2 separate regions of the Homo sapiens genome follow, and region 1 is linked to region 2. The links are contacts of gene promoters, found by promoter capture Hi-C in human tissues and cell types (Jung and others, 2019). All regions are on one chromosome and are shown on one strand. The core of a region is centred on a gene start or on the middle of the fragment in contact, and the rest is flanking DNA. Distances in the headings are between cores, read along the strand shown.

Region 1 (5,284 bases), core at 1,895-4,394, 240 kb after region 2:
AAAAGTGCTGGCACAGGTGAGTGCTCCCTAGGTGTTAGCCACGGCCCTCTTTCTCTTGCTCCTGCTTGGTCTTGGTCACACTCTTTCCCCTCTCCCTCACCTTTCCTGGCCCTGCCTATCTGTCCCTCTGTTATTAACACTGCCTACCTCTGCCTGGGAAGGACCCTGTACAGTTTTCCAAGTGCTTGGCCTCCATCTCCTATCATCATTTGAGCCAACAGCCCCAGGAGACAGGGGACAAGGCGTCATCTCACTTTTCCAGTGGAGGACATCAAGGCACAGAGTGCCTGGGCTGTTTGCTGGGGCTCCCTCAGTGTGTCGGAGCCAAGTCAGGACTCAGATTCGGGGCTGTCTGAAACACCAGCTGTCCTGCCCACCTGCCCAGACTTCAAGGCAGGGATGGCCAACGGAAGGCTCAAAATTGTCTACGTGCCTGTCTGGCCAGCAGGCACTTCCAATTCAAAGATTTCCTATTGAAATCTAGGTTTCAAGCTTTTCCTGGAAAACTTGGAAGATTCTGGAGCCCAGAGCCTAATAATTCACATCTCTGGGATCCATGTTCCTCATGTATAAAATGGGGATAGGGATAGTACTGACATCCTAAGGCTGCGGTGAGAATTTAGCAAACCTCTGCCCATCAAATAACTTGTAAGCAAATATTCATGGCAGCGTTACTCATAACAGCCCAAAGCGGAAACTACCCAAACGCCCATCAGCTGCTAAGTGGCTAAGCCACATGGGGTGTTCCCATACAGCAGAATATCACGCAGCCATAAAAGGAGTGCGGCAGTGACGCGCCACAGCATGGATGCACCTTGAGCACACGCCGCTGGGTGAGGGATGCCAGACACAAGAGGCCACACAGCGCAGGACTCCACTTCTGTGAACACCCAGAAGGGGCAAATCCACGGAGGGAGAAAGGCGGTTAGTGGCTGCCAGTGGACTGGGGGAAGAATCAGAGTGATGGCTCAGAACTACTGGGTTTCTTTTTGGGGTGACAGAAACGTCCTGGAATTAGATAGTGACGATGGTTGCATAACACTCTGAATATCCTGAAGGCCACTCAGTTGCACCCTTTAAAAGAATGAATTTTCGTGGTGGCTCATGCCTGTAATCCCAGCACTTTGGGAGGCTGAGGTAGGTGGATCACTTGAGGTCAGCTGTTCGAGACCAGCCTGGCCAACATGGTAACACCCTGTCTCTACTAAAAATACAAAAAATAAAAATAAAAAAATAAAAAAATTTAGCCCGGTGTGGTGGCATGCGCTTGTAATCTCAGCTACTTGAGAGGCTGAGGCAGGAGAATCGCTTGAACCTAGGAGGTGGAGGTTGTTAAAAGCCGAGATCGTGCCACTGCACTCCAGCCTGGGTGACAGAGCAAGACTCTCTCTCAAAAAAATAAAAAATAATAAATAATAATAATAAAAGAATAACTTTTTGTTTGACATGGAGTCTCACTGAATAATTTTTTTTTTTGAGACGGAGTCTCGCTCTGTCACCCAGGATGGAGTGCAGTGGTGCAACCTCGGCTCACTGCAAGCTCTGCCTCCCGGGTTCACGCCATTCTCCTGCCTCAGCCTCCCAAGTAGCTGGGACTACAGGTGCCAGCCACCACACCCGGCTAATTTTTTGTATTTTTAGTAGAGACAGGGTTTCACCGCGTTAGCCAGGATGGTCTCGATCTCCTGACCTCGTGATCCGCCTGTCTCGGCCTCCCAAAGTGCTGGGATTACAGGCGTGAGCCACCGCGCCTGGCCAATAAAAGAATAACTTTTATGTGAGTTTTATCTCAATTAAAAAGTTCCAAAAAGAAAAGAAAGGAAAAGAAAAACCCATGTAAAGTGCTTAGAACAGGCCTGGCCTTGCAGAAGCACTCAATATTTATTACAGTTAATACTAATACTACTGCCATAATTATTTTCCTCATTGTAACAGAGTCTGAGCTTTTCAGCCTTGTGCCTCCCTCCTCCCCTTCCATCCCACACCTGGGTGAGCGGATGAGCAAGCTTGGGTGCTCCCTCCTTTGGGGTGTGCATCCACGAGACTCAAACCATGCATGGTGTTGGCCCCTGTGCAGAAACCCTGAGCCCAGCCCCACCCCCAAGCACGATGAAACACCTGACCAGTCTCCTTTCCTCACTCTCAAGGCATCTCAGATCTGTGTGGGAGGCCTGCCTGCTCTCCACAGAGACCCCTATTATGTAAGCAATAAACCTCTCACATCCTCTTGGTGTGTGTGTGACATCATCAGTCTCGATGTTTGAACCAAATTTTACGTGGGGATCCATCCTCTCTCTGCACACTGGCCAGAACAACCATCCTTAACATGCAGCCCCTGGGCCTGCACTCCCACGTGACAATAGCAGGTAGCAGGTGGGGTGAGGAGGGGCACACTTCACACAGGGCACATGCCAACTGGCCGCAGTCCCCGCCACTCCCAACTGCCTTACTCCAGCCTGCTGCACTCATTCCCACTATTGCCCGGCCCTGCAGGTGGGTAGGTATAGAGTCCAAGGTCTAAGAGAAAGTTGCCTAGCGACAGGTCTGCAGCTAGGGATGTGGCTTCCATTCCCATTCTCAGAACGGGGTCCCCTCCCACTGTCCTGGTGCTGAGACGACCCAGTCCCTGGCCGCCCATGGACAGAGTGTACCTTCATAGAGAATGCCCTGGTTGTCCCTGGTCTGGAAGGACTTCAGCTTCCACTGTCGCCCACTCTTGTCTGTCAGCACTGTCCCTGTGGGCAAAGCTTCAAGTGAGGTGGTCACTCGGCTCCGCTTCAGCGTCTGAGGGCTCTGCCTGGTCTTCTGAGGGCTACAGCTGGTCTTCTGAGGGCTACCCCTGGTCACCTGAGGGCTCTTCCTGGTCTTCTGAGGGCTGCTTTTGGGGGTTGGGGGTCTGCTCCCGGAGCCTGCAGGAGGATGTAAGAATAAAGTAAAAGCACCATCCAGGAGAGAAAAGTTAGATGGGGAGTGAAACAGCACGCAAAATACTGTTCCTTTACAAATTCGTTCATTCAACAAACATTTCCTGGGACCTTCTATGAGTCAGGCCTTTGTGTGATGATGTTGGGGCACCAGATAGGAGTCGGACCTGCATCCTTCCCTCAGGAGTGCCCAGTTTGGTGGGCAAGTCTGCTCTAGACACAGCTAGTCAGATGCGGGTCTGAGACAGGGCAGTACAGACAGATATTAGGGCCCAAAAGAGAAAGAGATCCTGCCTGGAGAAGTCAGGGTAGGCTTCCTGGAGGAAGGGATGTTAGAGTTGGATCTTGTTGGATGAGGAGAAGTTTGCCAGGGAATAAAGGACATTCTAGACATTTACCCAAAAACATCCTGAAAAAGGACTCAGTCCTGAGATAGAAAAGGGCCAAAAAATTTGTTAGACCAAAGCCCTGCCCTAGAAGGGCTCCTAGCCTGGCAAGAGAATGGGGTGGGTGTGGTGGGAGACAGACTTGGACACAGGAAAAGACATCGCTTACTCTGTTCCTCCCACCCACCATCCCCTAAAGGCAAGTAATGGCAAGAGGCCTCTGGGCCCAGAGGATAATGAGGAGCAAAGGGGACGCCTCACACTGCCACTGTGGCTGTGGCTTCAGATCCAGGGGCTCAGTGAACAGGAGAAGGAACATAGTCCTCAGGCCTCCCGTGTCCTGGGCACTGGCTGGGCAGAGGGTATATACACTAATTGTGCTGGGTCCCTACCTGCAAAGGGCCCCCAGCCCAGAAAGTGAGGCCGAAAGGGATGTGGAGCCTAGACTGACATGCGCTCCAATGAAGGCTGCAGCAGGCACGGGGGGGCGCCAAAGAGGCTGGAAAGAGGCTCTGGCGGACGATGAGGAGGTCTGGATGCGAGCCTATGGCACTCAAGAGAAGCTTCCTAGAGACCAGTATCGGCTGAGTGGCAGTACACAAGGCCAAGAACGAAGGTGAGAGTGCCCTGGGCTGAGGGAACAGGCTTAGCAAAGACCAAGGTTAATCCCCAAAAGTGTTTTCTGGGCAAAGACTGTGTTGAGGGCTAAAGCAGGAACCAGGCCACACAGATACCAGACTGAAGAGCTTGGTCTGAGGGCACCAGGAACAGTAGGGGTCTGTGTGCAGGGAGGGGCCGGGGCAGCTCTAGGTGCTGAAAGACCCATCTGGGGCCATATAGAGGCAGACTGGAGGGGGAGATGGGAGGCTGGGGAAGCTGCTGGAGTCAGAGTCCAGGCAGGGATGGATGATGTTTGAGCCGGGGCTGTGGCAGTTTTGTCCCAAAGATCATCAGATGACCTAACTTTGCTCCACTTAAGAGTCAGGCCAGATAGACCTTAACTCTTACCTTTGGATCTCTCAGAGGAACTCAGAGTATCTTCAGACTCAGAACTGTCACCATCTGAGAAGAGGGATAATCGGGGAGAGGTGACGGTGCTGGACCATTTCACTTTCTTAGGAGAGGTTTCAAAACTGGAGTTCAGCCCTCTCTTTGAGCCTAAAGAAAGGCAGACAAAATGCAGACTGGAGTTACAAAGGCCCCTCTGCAGGCACCATTGGACTGGGAGCCCTGAGGTTATACTCAGCTATGCTGTTCTCTTTGGCCCTCAACACCAATTCTTGCTTCTTCTATTATGTAAATATATGAGCAAACTGTTCCTTTTAGTTGTTCTCTCCTTCTTAGGTCTTTGCCTCTCTTGTATCTTCCAGCACTTTGCCACTCTGTGTCCTTTCCACATAATGTCTTTATATGTATGTATATTTGAGATGGAGTCTCACTCTGTTGCCCAGGCTGGAGTGCAGTGGTGCAATCTTGGCTCACTGCAACCTCTGCCTCCTGGGTTCAAGCAATTCTCCTGCCTCAGCCTCCCAAGTAGCTAGGATTACAGGCATGCACCAACATGCCTGTAATGTTGCTAATTTTTATAGTTTTAGTAGAGATGGGGTTTCACCATGTTGGCCAGACTGGTTTTGAACTCCTGACCTCAAGTGATCGGCCAGCCTCAGCCTTCCAAAGTGCTGGGATTACAGGCATGAGCCACCATGCCTGGCCTCTTCCATGTAATTTCTTAAAATCTATCTTCCAGTTAACTAATTCTCCCAGCTATGTCTAGTCTGCTGTTTAAACCACCCACCGAGTTTCTGATTACAATAATTATTTTATATATATATACACACACACACACATATACACACATACAATGATTGTGTGTATATATATACACACATACACATATATACATATATAGACACACACATATACATATACACACATACAATCATTAGAGTTTTTATTTGGTTCCTTCTCTTATTT
Region 2 (3,849 bases), core at 1-2,500:
GCAGGGGGCCCAGCCAGTGTGAGTTGGCCGCTGAGGTCTTCCACTGTGGAGTCTGTCCCCGTGGAGTCAGTGGGCTCCATGGCGGCCAGGTTGAGCAGTGACACGTTGGTGCAGGCCGAGGACCGTTTGAGGTTCAGGCACCAGTGCATGGGCTGATGGGACATCTGGGGCTCCACCCTGCAGAGAAGAAACAGGCAGAAAAGTGGAGAAGCAGCCCCAGGGTGTCTGGGCCCTCCTGCCTTCCTTTCTCCATACCTCACCCCCTGTGACTCCACCCTCACTGTATATAAGTTTCTCCCTTCTCTGTCCCCGCTGCCTACTTTATTCTCCTTCCCTGTGCTGCCTACTTTCTTTCTTTTTTCTTTCTTTCTTTTTTTTTTTTTTTTGAGACAGAGTCTCACTCTGTTGCCCAGGCTGGAGTGCAGTGGCGCGATCTCAGCTCACTGCAACCTCCGACTGCGGGTCCCAGTTCAAGCAATTCTCCTGCCTCAGCCTCCTGAGTAGCTGGGGTTATAGGCATGTGCCATCACGCCCAGCTAATTTTAGTATTTTTAGTAGAGATGGCTTTTCACCATGTTGGCCAAGCTGGTTTTGAACTCCTGACCTCATGATCCACCTGCCTCGGCCTCCCAAAGTGCTGGGATTACAGGCGTGAGCCACCGTGCCCGACCACCACTGTCTACTTTCTTCTTCTCCTTCCCCGCTGCCTACTTTCTCCTCCCTTCTCTGCCACCTACTTTCTTCTTCATTCACTAGCCTCCCTTCTCCTTCTTCCCTCCCCACTGGCTTTTTCCTCTCTCCATCCATCCCCATTACCTTCTTCCTCCCTCCATCCATCCCCATTACCTTCTTCCTCTCTACCTCCCTGTGACTTGATGTCTCTTCACTGCTGCCCTCTTTCCTGCCCCCGACCTGCTGGCTTTTCCCCCTCCCCTTCCTCTAGCACCCACAGTCGGACTCCTGCTCTGTTGGAGGTAGTGCTGGGCATTAGAACCATCCCTGACAGTGTGCAACAAACCCACCCGTGGAACGACACGGCCTTCTTTTTCTTCGGGATCCCCTTGGCCCGGCTGGTCACCCTCCGGGGAGCCTCTGGGACTAGCTGGGAGCAGCTCTCCACCCCCGTGGGGGTGTCCCCGGCCTCATGGATCTCTTTGGACTGCCAGATCGTCTTCACCACCACGCTCGCCATGGTGTGGGGGTCTGGCTCCCAGGGAGGGGCTCCTTCCTCTGAGACTTCCTACCTACTGTGACCACAGACCCTCAGGATCCACTGTCCCCTCAGCCTGCCTCACAAAGGACCCAACCACTGGGCCCCAGTGAGTGGGGGGCACAGGGTAGGGAGAGATGCTGGCCCAGGTCATTCCCCTAGGGTTCTCAGTGGACTCCTCCTGTTCAGGATTCTAGTTACATGCCCAATGTGCCCCCCGTCTTCAGAGCTCCAGTGGATGGATTCATGCTAGCCTGTAACTTAACAATGGGTCGGCCCACGGATTCTTGGGAGAGGTCCAACTTCCCTCTCCCTGAGACTAAGCGTGGGGTCACACAGCCCTGTGCACTTGTTCTTGATTCTTCATGTAGCTTCCTGGATTTGACAATTGGCTGGGGTTTGAGAGACTGTGGTCGAAGAGGGCTGAGATCCAGACCCTGACCTGGAGGGTCTCATATTCTATGGGGCGTCGGGGTCGGGGGAAAGGCAATATACAGGTAGATCAACAAAAGAAAGCTAGGTGCGGTGGGCCTCGGGGTCAGGGTAGAAGGTGAGGGAGGAGAGGAAGGTAGAGAGTTGGGGCAGGACAGAGGGTGGTATCCCCCTCCCCCGTTTATTTATTTATTATTTTCTTTAATACTTTTTATTTTTTTTGAGACAGAGTCTCTCTCTGTCATGGAGGCTGGAGTTCAGTGGCGCGATCTCAGCTCATTGCAACCTCCACCTCCCGGGGTTCAACCGATTCTCCTGCCTCAGCCTCCCCAGTAGCTGGGACTACAGGCGCTGGCCACAATGTCCGGCTAATTTTTGTATTTTTAGTAGAGACGGGTTTCACCATGTTGGCCAAGTTGGTCTCAAACTCCCGACCTCAAATGGTCCACCCGCCTTAGCCTCCCAAAGTGTGGGATTACAGACATGAGCCACCATGCTCCGCTATAATTTTTTTTTTTTTTTTTTAGATGGAGTCTCGCTCTGACACCCAGGCTGGAGTGCAGTGGCGTGATCTTGGCTCATTGCAACCTCTACCTCCCAGTTTCAAGCGATTCTCCTGCCTCAGCCTCCTGAGTAGCTGGGACTACAGGTACCTGCCACCACACCCATCTAATTTTTTTTTTGTATTTTTAGTAGAGACAGGGTTTCACTGTGTTGGCTAGGCTAGTCTCCAACTCCTGACCTCGTGATCTGCCCACTTCAGCCTCCCAAAGCATTGGAATTACAGGTGTGAGCCACTGCGCCCCGCCCGCCCAAAGTATTTAAAAAATATATGGAACATGTCACAAATTTGCATGTGGTCTTTGCGCAGGGCCCATGCTAATCTTCTCTGTATCGTTCCAATGTTAATACATGTGCTGTCGAAGCGAGCACTGCCCTGCTATTTAGGGACAGACTTTTCCTGTTCTCTTCACACTTCTCAAAAAGACTAGTTCAAACATCACTGCTAATAGACATTTTAAATGCTGTTATCCCCAGGGAGAAAGTACTTCTTCCTGGTCATGAATGGACTCCAGTTCTTGGAACACTTAATCTTTCTATAATAAAGAACTCCTGGCTGGGCGCGGTGTCTCACACCTGTAATCCCAGCACTTTGGGAGGCCGAGGCGGGCGGATCACCTGAGGTTAGGAGTTCAAGACCAGCCTGGCCAACATAGTGAAACACTGTCTCTACAAAAATACAAAAATTAGGCGAGCATGATGACGGGTGCCTGTAATCCCAGCTACTTAGGAGGCTGAGGCAGGAAAATCGCTTTAACTCGGGAGGAAGAGGTTACAGTGAGCCGAGATTGAGTCACTGAACTCCAGCCTGGGGGACAGAGAGAGACTCTGTCTCAAAAAAAAGAAAAAAAAAAAAGGCCGGGCGCAGTGGCTCACGCCTGTAATTCCAGCACTTTGGGAGGCCGAGGTGGGCGGATCACAAGGTCAGGAGATCGAGACCATCCTGGCTAACACGGTGAAACCCCGTCTCTACTAAAAACACAAAAAATTAGCCAGGCATGGTGGCGTGCGCCTGTAGTCCCAGCTACTTGGGAGGCTGAGGCAGGAGAATGGCGTGAACCCGGGAGGCGGAGGTTGCAGTGAGCTGAGATCGCGCCACTGCACCCCAGCCTGGGCGACAGAGCGAGACTCCATCTCAAAAAAAAAAAAAAAGAACTTCAAGTCCTGGGATTAATAATTTTTCTTGTGTTTAATGGGGCTGCTTTATGTTCTTCAGGGGCAAACAGCACCCCCCTCCCATATTAGAAATGGACTCTCCCTGTGACTAAAACAGCTGAGCAATTTCTGTCCTCCTGGAATCCAAAATGGACTTTCCCAGGCCCCATTCCTGGAAACCCAAATGGACGCATCCATTGAGCCTGGAAGGTGGGCTCTTCTCAACCTCCTTTCCATCTCCCAGGATTCAGAATGGCCATTCCAAAGGTCCAGAACACACCCCCAAGGCTCATTCCAGGAATTCTTGGCTTCTGAGATTAGAAAAGGCTGATGGGGTGGAGTTTTGTTCCTACAGGTGACAGAAATGGACTCTTCCAGTTCCCTTTGTCCCAAATTTCTCAATCTCCTGGGGCGTTGGGAGTTCTGGCCGTTTTGCCTTCCCCAAAGCCAGTTTACCAAAGAGTCTCTGGGGAGCTGGGGGTTGGGGATGG

Evidence for each region. Contacts are between HindIII fragments. The study calls those that stand out against the background at their distance.
Region 1: a fragment that was not itself captured here is called in contact with the fragment with the promoter of TSKS in region 2 in 2 of the 25 tissues and cell types used here (lymphoblastoid cells and spleen).

The regions. Positions count from the first base shown.
Region 1 is chr19:50,004,918-50,010,201 of GRCh38, forward strand. VRK3 (VRK serine/threonine kinase 3) reads right to left here. Exons shown (of 15, transcript NM_016440.4): 4 at 4,319-4,468; 5 at 2,652-2,909. Among named protein-coding and RNA genes, the nearest start is that of VRK3, 18 kb to the right of the region's middle. The HindIII fragment of the contact is 3,791 bases long and covers 1,250-5,040 here.
Region 2 is chr19:49,762,056-49,765,904 of GRCh38, forward strand. TSKS (testis specific serine kinase substrate) reads right to left here and starts at 1,251. Exons shown (of 11, transcript NM_021733.2): 1 at 1,023-1,251; 2 at 1-177. The coding sequence starts at 1,192. It also overlaps the pseudogene RNU6-841P. RefSeq lists enhancers at 1-4, 3,611-3,849. The HindIII fragment of the contact is 39,317 bases long and covers 1-3,849 here.